3 separate regions of the Homo sapiens genome follow, and all the other regions are linked to region 2. Evidence: promoter capture Hi-C in human tissues and cell types (Jung and others, 2019). All regions are on one chromosome and are shown on one strand. The core of a region is centred on a gene start or on the middle of the fragment in contact, and the rest is flanking DNA. Distances in the headings are between cores, read along the strand shown.

Evidence for each region. The method cuts DNA at HindIII sites, captures the fragments that hold promoters and counts their contacts. A contact is called where the count stands out against the background at its distance.
Region 1: a contact is called between the fragment with the promoter of ATP6V0C here and the fragment with the promoter of NDUFB10 in region 2, in 1 of the 25 tissues and cell types used here (dorsolateral prefrontal cortex).
Region 3: a fragment that was not itself captured here is called in contact with the fragment with the promoter of NDUFB10 in region 2 in 1 of the 25 tissues and cell types used here (lymphoblastoid cells).

What each region holds. Positions count from the first base shown.
Region 1 is chr16:2,512,665-2,515,821 of GRCh38, forward strand. ATP6V0C (ATPase H+ transporting V0 subunit c) reads left to right here and starts at 1,288. Exons shown (of 3, transcript NM_001694.4): 1 at 1,288-1,518. The coding sequence starts at 1,440. RefSeq lists an enhancer at 1-98 and silencers at 1,004-1,483, 1,904-2,043. The HindIII fragment of the contact is 15,008 bases long and covers 1-3,157 here.
Region 2 is chr16:1,958,240-1,960,787 of GRCh38, forward strand. It overlaps NDUFB10 (NADH:ubiquinone oxidoreductase subunit B10), which reads left to right and starts at 1,299. Exons shown (of 4, transcript NM_004548.3): 1 at 1,299-1,515. The coding sequence starts at 1,386. RefSeq lists an enhancer at 1-356 and silencers at 1,079-1,388, 1,819-1,928. The HindIII fragment of the contact is 2,906 bases long and covers 266-2,548 here.
Region 3 is chr16:1,376,952-1,380,191 of GRCh38, forward strand. The region is part of intron 10 of UNKL (unk like zinc finger); the gene reads right to left. Among named protein-coding and RNA genes, the nearest start is that of GNPTG, 27 kb to the left of the region's middle. RefSeq lists silencers at 2,342-2,411, 2,482-2,531, 2,572-2,651, 2,682-2,821. The HindIII fragment of the contact is 4,164 bases long and covers 1-3,240 here.

The sequences.
Region 1 (3,157 bases), core at 38-2,537, 550 kb after region 2:
TTTGAACCAGGACAGACTTAGGGACTTTCACGGGCTGCAAGTTCCAAGAGTGGCAGACCCAGGCTAGCCTGGGGAAGGGGCTTGAGGGAGGCTCCTGCTGGGGAAGGTGGGGCTGAGTCCAGCAGGAGGGCCAGACCAGGGGCCATGACCCCATTGCCTACATAGAGAAGGTGATGAGCCAGCATCCAGGCTACTCAGGGAGAGCTCTAACCCAGGATGAGGCCTTAGAGCTCAAAGGACACTCAGGCCTGGTGGCAGCTGCCCAGGGCCCCTGAAAGGGGGAATGGAGATCAGGCAGAGGGGGTGCCAGGGACTGCCACACAGGATCAGTAGGGCAGCGCCAGCCCTGGCTGGGCTGCTTTCACGGCTGCGGGAACCGCTCCAACTGCTCCAGAAAGACAGAAAGATGGCCCTGAAGGTGCAGGCTTTGCGTGAGTGGGTGGCTGCAAGGACAGGTGGGAGGACCAGGACGCCAGAACGTGCAGAGCCCGGGGGGCCTCCAGAGGTCGCAGTTCCGACAGGGCTTCCACCAGTCATGCCTACATCTTGAGGGGCAGAGACACACCCCACTAATGTTTGGGTCCCTGATGCAAAGGCAGAGACAGGTGCGGGGAGGGGGTCCTTTTTCTCCGAAGCGAGAGGTGAAGTCACCAACTGCTGGGTCAGAGGCAGTAGGTCTGGGTCTGGAGGAGACTGGGGACAGGGTGGAGGGAGGTGACCGCAGCCACGGGCTGGGACTTCACAGGTGTGGGCTGGGGGCTTTTCCGGACGCTGTGGCAGAGGAGGCCCGCGCGCCGCACATCTGCTGGGACCCTTAGCTCGCCCAGGATTGGTAGGGAGATCCTGGAAGACCAGCGCCCGGAGGGGTGAGGCCCCGTCTTGGGGGCAAGGCCGCGAAACCACGGCCTGCAGCTTCACGCCAGGGGTACAAAGAAAAGCGTCGCCGGGAACCCAACACCTGCAGACGACGCGCAGCCGCAGAGGAGGCGGGGCGTCCGAGGCCCCGCCCCGTATGCTAATGAAGCACACACCACACCGCCCCGCCCCGGCGCGAGACCGGTCCAACGCTGCGGAGATCCAGAGGCCGGCGGCGCCCGGAAACACCCGCGGAGGCCGAGGCAGGGCGGGGCCGGGCGCCGGGGCCGGGTCGCTGGGCGGGCGGCACAGCCCGGGGGAGGTCAACGGGCCGGCCGGGCGTCCCGGGGACGCGTCTCCCCCACGGTGCGAAGTGGTACGGCTCGCAGGGGCGGGGCCCAGGTCATGTGACGCGGCCGCGGCCGCCATTTTGTTCTGCGGTGCTGGTATTTAGAGCGCAGCGGCTGACGGGCCGGATCGCCTTCGCCGCCGCCCGCCCGCAAACCTTCGTGCCCGGCCCGTCCTCGCCCCCGCCTCCGCCACCGCCTCGGCCCGCAGAGCTTGCCCCCTCCCCACCCGCAGACATGTCCGAGTCCAAGAGCGGCCCCGAGTATGCTTCGTTTTTCGCCGTCATGGGCGCCTCGGCCGCCATGGTCTTCAGCGGTGAGCGCGGCGGCGGGAGGGACTCGGGGGCGGGGGCGCGCGCGTTGCTCATGCCCGCAGCTCGCCGGGGTCCGGTGTGTGACGTCACTCTGACGTAATCCCGAGCTGTCGGGGGCGCCCGGGCCTCGTGTGACAGCGGGCGGGGGTCGGCGCCCCGAGGGCTGCGGGGAGCCGCCGGGGGTCCGGGGCGCAGGGCGTGCGGGCCTGGCCGGGGTGTGAGTCTCGGGGGTCCGGGCCGGCGGCCCTGCCAGCCGGGTCGTGCGGTTGCGGGGGTGGGGCGGCGGCGCCGCTGCCATATTAGCCCCGGGAGCGGCGAGAGGGAGGCTGGGGTGGGGGCGCGAGGGGGGCGGCGCGAGGGGGGCCGATTCTGCGGGCAGGTGACATCACACCTCGAAGGCCCCAGTGCGCGGGCGGCGGCGCGGGTCCGGCCCAGGAACGCCCAGCCGGTCGCTGGAGCTTTCCGGCTGGTGGGGAGCCCATGTCCCCCACGGGAGGTCCTCAGCCCTCGCCCTTATGGCGGCCGGCCCCGAGGGTCAGGTGGGTCTCACCCACAGGCAGGTACTTCCGGTTGGAGCTGGTTACAGTTGCCCAATACCCGTGTCGCTGTGTGGGCTGTTTGGGAAAGCTGGGCTGAGGGCTTGGTTCGGAGAGCCCGCGGAGACCCGGGTGGGAGTGTGTGGAAGTGGAGGGAGCGGGGAGACAGCAGCATCGGCGCTGGCGGGGCTGTGTAGCTTGCAGAGGGTCTGTGCTCTGAGGTGGGTGAGAGGGTGGCATGGGTGTCCGAGTTTATGGGATCCAGTCGTTGCCCTCAGGACTGAGGCTTCCAGTTGTGGTCCTAATGAATGGAGGGGTGAATGAATGACCTTCCTTTCCCTCCCTGAGGCCTGAAGTTGGGAGGGGCTTCCCTGGGCTTGGAGAAGGGGCCTTCTAGGGTTCTTGGTGGCACCCTGCTTTTGAAATTGGGCCTTGACAGGTCCTGGGCGTCCAATTTAGTGACAATTGGTCTCCCTGGGAGAATGGCACTTGGGCTAGGGCTAGGCCCAGGAATGTGGGTCCGACGAGTTAAGTTCTGGCCCAGTCTCAGCCTCCGTGGACTGGCCTGGCCTGGTCTGATTTCCGCCTCCGTGGTTAGGTCTGGTTTTAGCTTTGATGACCGTGCCCTGCCCCACCCTGCCTGGTGGCCTGGGGAGGCTCCTAGTGCAGATATGTGGAGGGTTTGAACTCCAAACAGTCTCTGCTGACTGTAAACACCTGTGGGGTGGGGGCTTGGAGCTCTCTGTTCTCTTGCGGGCCTCCTTCTGCCTGGGCCTGTCTGCCATTCGTGAGTGAGCCCTGGCCTTCCCGTCGTGTGCAAGTAAGGGGTCATTTGTGGTGGAAGAAGTGGTCTAGACTTCTCCTTCCCCCTAGGCACCGCCTGCTCTTTCCACAGACTCAAGGCTTCTCCCAACAGGCTGCCGAGCCCTTCCCCCCAGCCTCCTCTGTTCTTTGCCCTCAGAATGCCTTCAGAGATTCCATTTTGCCTGGCCACCTGTGGGGTATTAGCTTGTGGCTGTCACTCATTCATCCAAACAATCTTGATTGAGCGCTTACTATGTGCCAGGTACTGGTAGGACAGCAGTGAACAAAATGGGATCCCCGC
Region 2 (2,548 bases), core at 49-2,548:
CTGGAGCAGGGGGCGGCGCTCGTCGGGGAGGTTCGGGCCGCACAGGAGCCCACGGAGTGGGGGAGGCTCAGGCATGGCGGGCTGTAGGTCCCGAGCCCTGCCCCGCGGGGAGGCAGCTAAGGCCTGGCGAGAGAAATCGAGCGCAGCGCCGGTGGGCCGGCCTGCTGGGGGACCCAGCACACCCTCCGCAGCCGCTGGCCCGGGTGCTAAGCCCCTCATTGCCCAGGGCCGGCAGGGCCGGCCAGGCTCTCCGAGTGCGGGGCCCGCCGAGCCCACACCCACCTGGAATTCGCGCTGGCCCGCAAAGCACCGCGCGCAGCCCCGGTTCCCGCCTGCGCCTCTCCCTCCACACCTCCCCGCAAGCTGAGGGAGCCCGCTCTGGCCTTGGCCAGCCCAGAAAGGGGCTCCTCAAGTGCCGCCAAAGTGGGAGCCCAGGCAGAGGAGGCGCCGAGAGCGAGCGAGGGCTCTGAGGACTGCCAGCACGCTGTCACCTCTCACTGTTTGTCTGTAGGGTTGATGGTTCTGTGTCGCTGGCCTCAACCTCAGGACAGGACATGACCAGTGTCCCCCCTGGATAGCAGCCAGGGGCCGTGCCAGGTGTGGAGACTGAAGATGTGGCCAGCAGGACCCTGCTCAGTGGAGCTGCCTAGAAGCACCAGAGTGCCCCAGGGCCAGGATGGAACCATCAAAGCCGGCCAGAGGGCCCTGTGCCCAGGGTAGGTGCCTTCTCCCTATGAGCCGCCTAAGGGCAAGCCCTGCCTCCTGGTCTGCTCCCTGCCCTCCCCCAGACAGGCTCCCAAGTTAACTGGCACCAGCCAGTCCATGAGGGGCCCTTGTAGAGAGCGGGGCCCAGAGAAGTCTGTAGGGACTAGGCAATCCAGGAAAGCTTCCTGGAGGAGTAGGGTGTTTGGAATCGCGTGCTATTTGTTCACTTTGTCGTGTGCGCTCTAACGGCCTGTGTTCTCCATCACAGTTTATCTTATTCCCTGCTGCACTCAGCACAGTGCCTGGCGCGCAGTGGGAACCGAATGACCCCCTCCTATTCCTTATGTCAGTTGCCTTTTGTCTGTTTCTTTCATCGTAAGCAGGAATCTGTCCGGTTCGCGGCTGCTTCCCAGGCGCCCAGACCAGCGACCAGCACCGCGTAGGCGCTCGGCACAGACCGAGAACGGAGGCCCCACGCGGGGGCGCCCTGCGGCGAGGCGGGTCCCGGCCGCGCCCGGCGGAGCCGGGGAACTACAAGTCCCATGGTGCATCGCGGCGCCAGCGCGCAGACGCAGCCGCCCTCGGCGTCCTCTGTAGCGGGCGACCTAGGCCGCGGGACCCGGACGGAGGTAGAGGCCAGGGCAGCGCGTCCGGGAGCGGAGTCCGCGCCCGCCGCCGCCATGCCGGACAGCTGGGACAAGGATGTGTACCCTGAGCCCCCGCGCCGCACGCCGGTGCAGCCCAATCCCATCGTCTACATGATGAAAGCGTTCGACCTCATCGTGGACCGACCCGTGACCCTCGTGAGAGGTACGAAGCCCCAGCCCGGGGCTCCCTCGCCGGCCTCTGGGGACCCCTGGATCCCACACCCTGCCTGGATCCTCCAATGCCTCCGGGGTCCCGTCTGCCTGAGACCGCCCCCCGCTGCACCCCGGGGACAACTCCCCACCCCCGGAGACCTCCGAGCTCCGTCGCCTCCTTTGGCCTCCCACTGCACCCCGGACCTCACCTCCCAGGATCCCTTACTCTCCCCTGCACCCCGGGATGCCCCGCTTCTTCCCAGGACTCTTCCCTCCCTGCCGCACCCAGCGCCCACTGCCCCAGGACCCCGCACTGCTCTCCGCCCCCCGCCGCCCCGGGCACCCCTCCACTGCACCGCTGGCCTCAGGCCTCTCTCAAATGTCTCTCTGCCGGATGACCAAGTGTCGGGGTGATGGCCGAGATGCCCAAATTCAGCATCTCTGGAACGAACCGGGAAAATGCCCAGTTCAGTTTTTGTTGTTTTTTTTTTTCCTGAGACAGTCTCACTCTGTTGCCCAGGCTGGAGTGCAGTGGCGCGATCTCGGCTCACTGCAACCTCTGCCCCACCCCGGGTTCAAGCGATTCTCCTGCCTCAGCCTCCCCAGTACTAGGATTACAGGCGCACCACCACCACGCCCAGCTAATTTTTATATTTTTAGTAGACACGGGGTTTCACCATGTTGGCCAGGCTGGTCTCGAACTCCTGACCTCAGGTGATCCTCCCACCTTGGCCCCCAGGTGCTGGGATTACAGGCCTGAGCCACCGTGTCCAGCCTGGTTCAGTTCTTTTTGAACACTTGGGGTGCATAGCATGCTCTGGTGGTTCTTCCGTAAGAGGGTGAAGTCTCCAAATCAAACCCCCAAAGATCTGGAAACCGTGCAACAGCGGACCCAGCTCCCTCTCTTTTGTAGCAGTTGTAGAGCATGTCTGTCCTATGTGTCTGGATGTTCGAGCTCTCCTTTTAGCTCGTTCATTTCCCAGTGAGGAAGCTGAGGCCGTAAGGTGGTAAGTTCTGCTTGCTGGAGGCTCCCTGTTGGAGCC
Region 3 (3,240 bases), core at 68-2,567, 580 kb before region 2:
CTGCTGTGTTTCCCTGCAACGCCACGTACCTAGGTGCGACGCCTGGGGTTCAGGTGCATCTTCCCCCGCCACACCCAGCCCCCCCAACCGAGATAGAGTCTTGCTCTGTCACCCAGGCTGGAGTGCAATGGCGCGATCTCAGCTCACTGCAACCTCCGCCTCCCAGGTTCAAGCTATTCTCCTGCCTCAGCCTCCTGAGCAGCTGGGACTACAGGTGCCCTCCACCACCCCCAGCTAATTTTGCATTTTTAGTAGAGACAGGTTTTCTCTATGTTGGTCAGGCTGGTCATGAACTCCCCACCTCAGGTGATCTGCTTGCCTCATCTCCCAAAGTGCTGGGATTACAGGTGCAAGCCACCATGCCCAGCCTCAAATGCAACTTTCAGGGGACACAATTCAACCCAGGACATGGGGGCCCACCTGCAGATGCCCCTGTTGGTCCTGCCCGTCCTCCCCAGGCCCCTCAGGACTCTGTATCAACAGATCTGGCCCCTGCTGTGCACAGCCCTCCCTCCCTGAGTCCTCCCTCAGAAAGGAGACCCCCCCTCTGCCTCCACTCCCCCTGCAGCTGTTTTCTGGGGCCTCCTCACCACTCACTCTGCCCACCGCTGCCCCGGGCCCTTCCCTCCAGCCCTGCGCCTGTGCCCTGAACTGCCTCTTGTCATAGGCACCAGCTTCCCTCCCAGGCCCACCCTCCTCCCTGAGGGCTGGCAGCCTCTCCTGTGGCCTGGACCCGCCCAACACAGTGGCTCTGCAGCCCCGAGCCCAGATGTCCAGCAGGGGCCAAAGCCCTTCCTCCTCCCTGGCAAAGGATCCCTTGCTTGTTCCCATGGCCCCACTGCAGGCCCTTCCCAGACACCACGTGTGCAGGGGCTGCTGGAAGCTGGCACTGCAGGATCCCTTCCTCATGGGCTGCTCGCTCAACCCACACCCCCTGAGGCCCATGCCCAGCCTGCCTTCATGCATTGCAATAGTAACCTTCCTACCAAGAAAAGCCTCATTGCATCCTGAATCCTGACCTGCAAGAAAGGAGGAAGCTTGTGCCCTTGCGCGTGCCGGTCACCGCTTCCCAATGGGTCCTTTGCCGGGCTCCTAACCTGCTGTGCCACTGCAGGCTCAGCCTGGCTGTGCCTTCCATTCAGTAAGATCAGCCACACCAGTCCCCAGAAAGCTGCTCGGCCTCCAAGCCCTGCATGGAATGCCCCCCACTACATCCTTGCAGGTGTCAGCCTGAACCATGTCAGGGCCCTGGACAGACTCACTGAGGACAGGCACCGACCCCCCAACCCGCAGGCCTGCCCACAGCCCCCTCATGCTCCCATACGGGGGCTTGATGACGGGCAGGGCCAAGCGGTTTGCCCATAGTCAGGTCAGCCAGGCTCGGGAACCTGGACCTGCCCTCTGCACCCAAGTCCCAGGATCAGGATATGGCAGCCCCTTCAGAGCTCACCGCCCCTCACACCTGGCAGAGATCCAGAAACTCCTCATGAAAATCAAAGACGCAAAGAAGTTGGGGGACAGGAACGGAGGCGCCTTTTCTCCCCTTGGAGTGGGGTGATCCCACCAGGCTCCGTGCTAAGTCGGCAGAAGCTTCACCCACCAGCTGCAGAGTGCGCAGCATGTGGAGGGGCTAAGCTGCCTTCAATGCTCACCCGACAAACTACGGCTCGCACTCAACTCAGAGGGCGTCAGCCACCACCTACCTCAGCCAAGTCACCTGTGCTGAAGCCCGGGAAGCTGCCTGGAGAGGGGACGTTCAGGGAGCGTGTGGGTGCCCCCGAGAGACTCCGGCCCCGCTTCAAAGCCAAGTGCCCCTCATCCAAAGAGAGCACCGGAGAGGGTCCTGGAGGCTCCACCACCCCTAGGGTGCTATCTAGGGCTCACTCCCAGAAATCAAGGGGGGAGACGGCTGCTGCACCGTCCTGGCCCACTTTCTCACCCGCAGCTTCTCCCCCACCTCACCTCACTGTTTCAAGGTTAGACCCAGATCTTCTGAAACATTCTCAAAGAAAGAGCTGACCCTTGTGCAGAGGCAAAATCTAGGTGAGGCTGGTCACCTAAGCGAGTACAGCTGGGTCAGGCCAGGCTGCCTCAGCCCCGGGCGTTAGGAAACCACCGGCCCCGCTGAGTCACCGCGACACAGCCCGGCTCTGCCGTGACACAGCACATTCAAGGCGCCGCGGTCCCCCGGGGTCAGGGACACGCGAGGACAAGCTACAGACTGCTCGGAACTCAGGACAGGGCGGGGGAGCCGCCGACGCCAGGGAAATTCCCGTACCACGCGGGCTGAGTGCAGGCGGGCCAGGCCAGGACGCAGGGGTCGGCCCTCCCCCGCCCCGTTCCCCTGCCCTCTCCTGCCCCGCTCCGCTCCGCTCTCCTGCCCCGCTCCCCTGCCCTCCCTCGGGGCACCGACCCCGCCTAGCTAGGGGACGCAGGCGGCCCGAGCCCGCGCTGGGAAGCGGCGAGCGCCCGGCAGAGGCAGGTTCCGAGAAGGCGACGCCTTCGCCTCGCTCCGGGCCTCTGAGAAGCCCGGGCCCACCCCGCGGCTGTCACACCCGGCTCCGTGACGCGGGGGACGCACCTGGCGGGGGGCGCACCTAAGGGAGGGCCCGCTCCTGACCGCCGAGTAACGAGACCCGCACCTTGGCGGCGCACGGCTGCCACGCGCTGGGGCCGCCGCCAATGCTGACTCACGGTCCGCGGCCGCCCCGCGCCGCCGCCGGGGATTCAAACCCGGCCCGCGCCCCGCCCCCTCCGCGCTGGCCCCGCCCCGCAACGTGACTCGGCCCCGCCCCCGTCGCACTGGCCACGCCCCCCGCGCTGCCCTCCCCCAACCTTCCCCCCGACTCGGGCGCACCCGGTCCCCGCGGCTCCTGGCTACGAGCTGGGCGGGCAAGTGGGCGCGGGCAGCGGGGGCCAGAGGTCTTCAGGCAGAAAGCCCCAGAGCTGCCCCGCTGCCCGGCTCCTCCTGCCCTGCCCACCTGCACCTGCAGCTGCTCCGGGCGGACTCAGGTGAAACACGGTCGACCCAACAGGGGCGCTCGCGGGGCGGGGCGGCGTGAGCTGGGGCCGCTGCCTGCCCTGCAGGACCCTCCTCCCTCCCAAGTCCGCGTGCCTGCCCAGCCCCATCTAAACGCGGGGTACGGAGCTCGCAGGTCTCTCTTAATCTGAAACCTGTTCCTATGAAGTGTAAGATGAAGGAAAATGGAACCTATCAGATGGGTCTGAAATGATCCCACT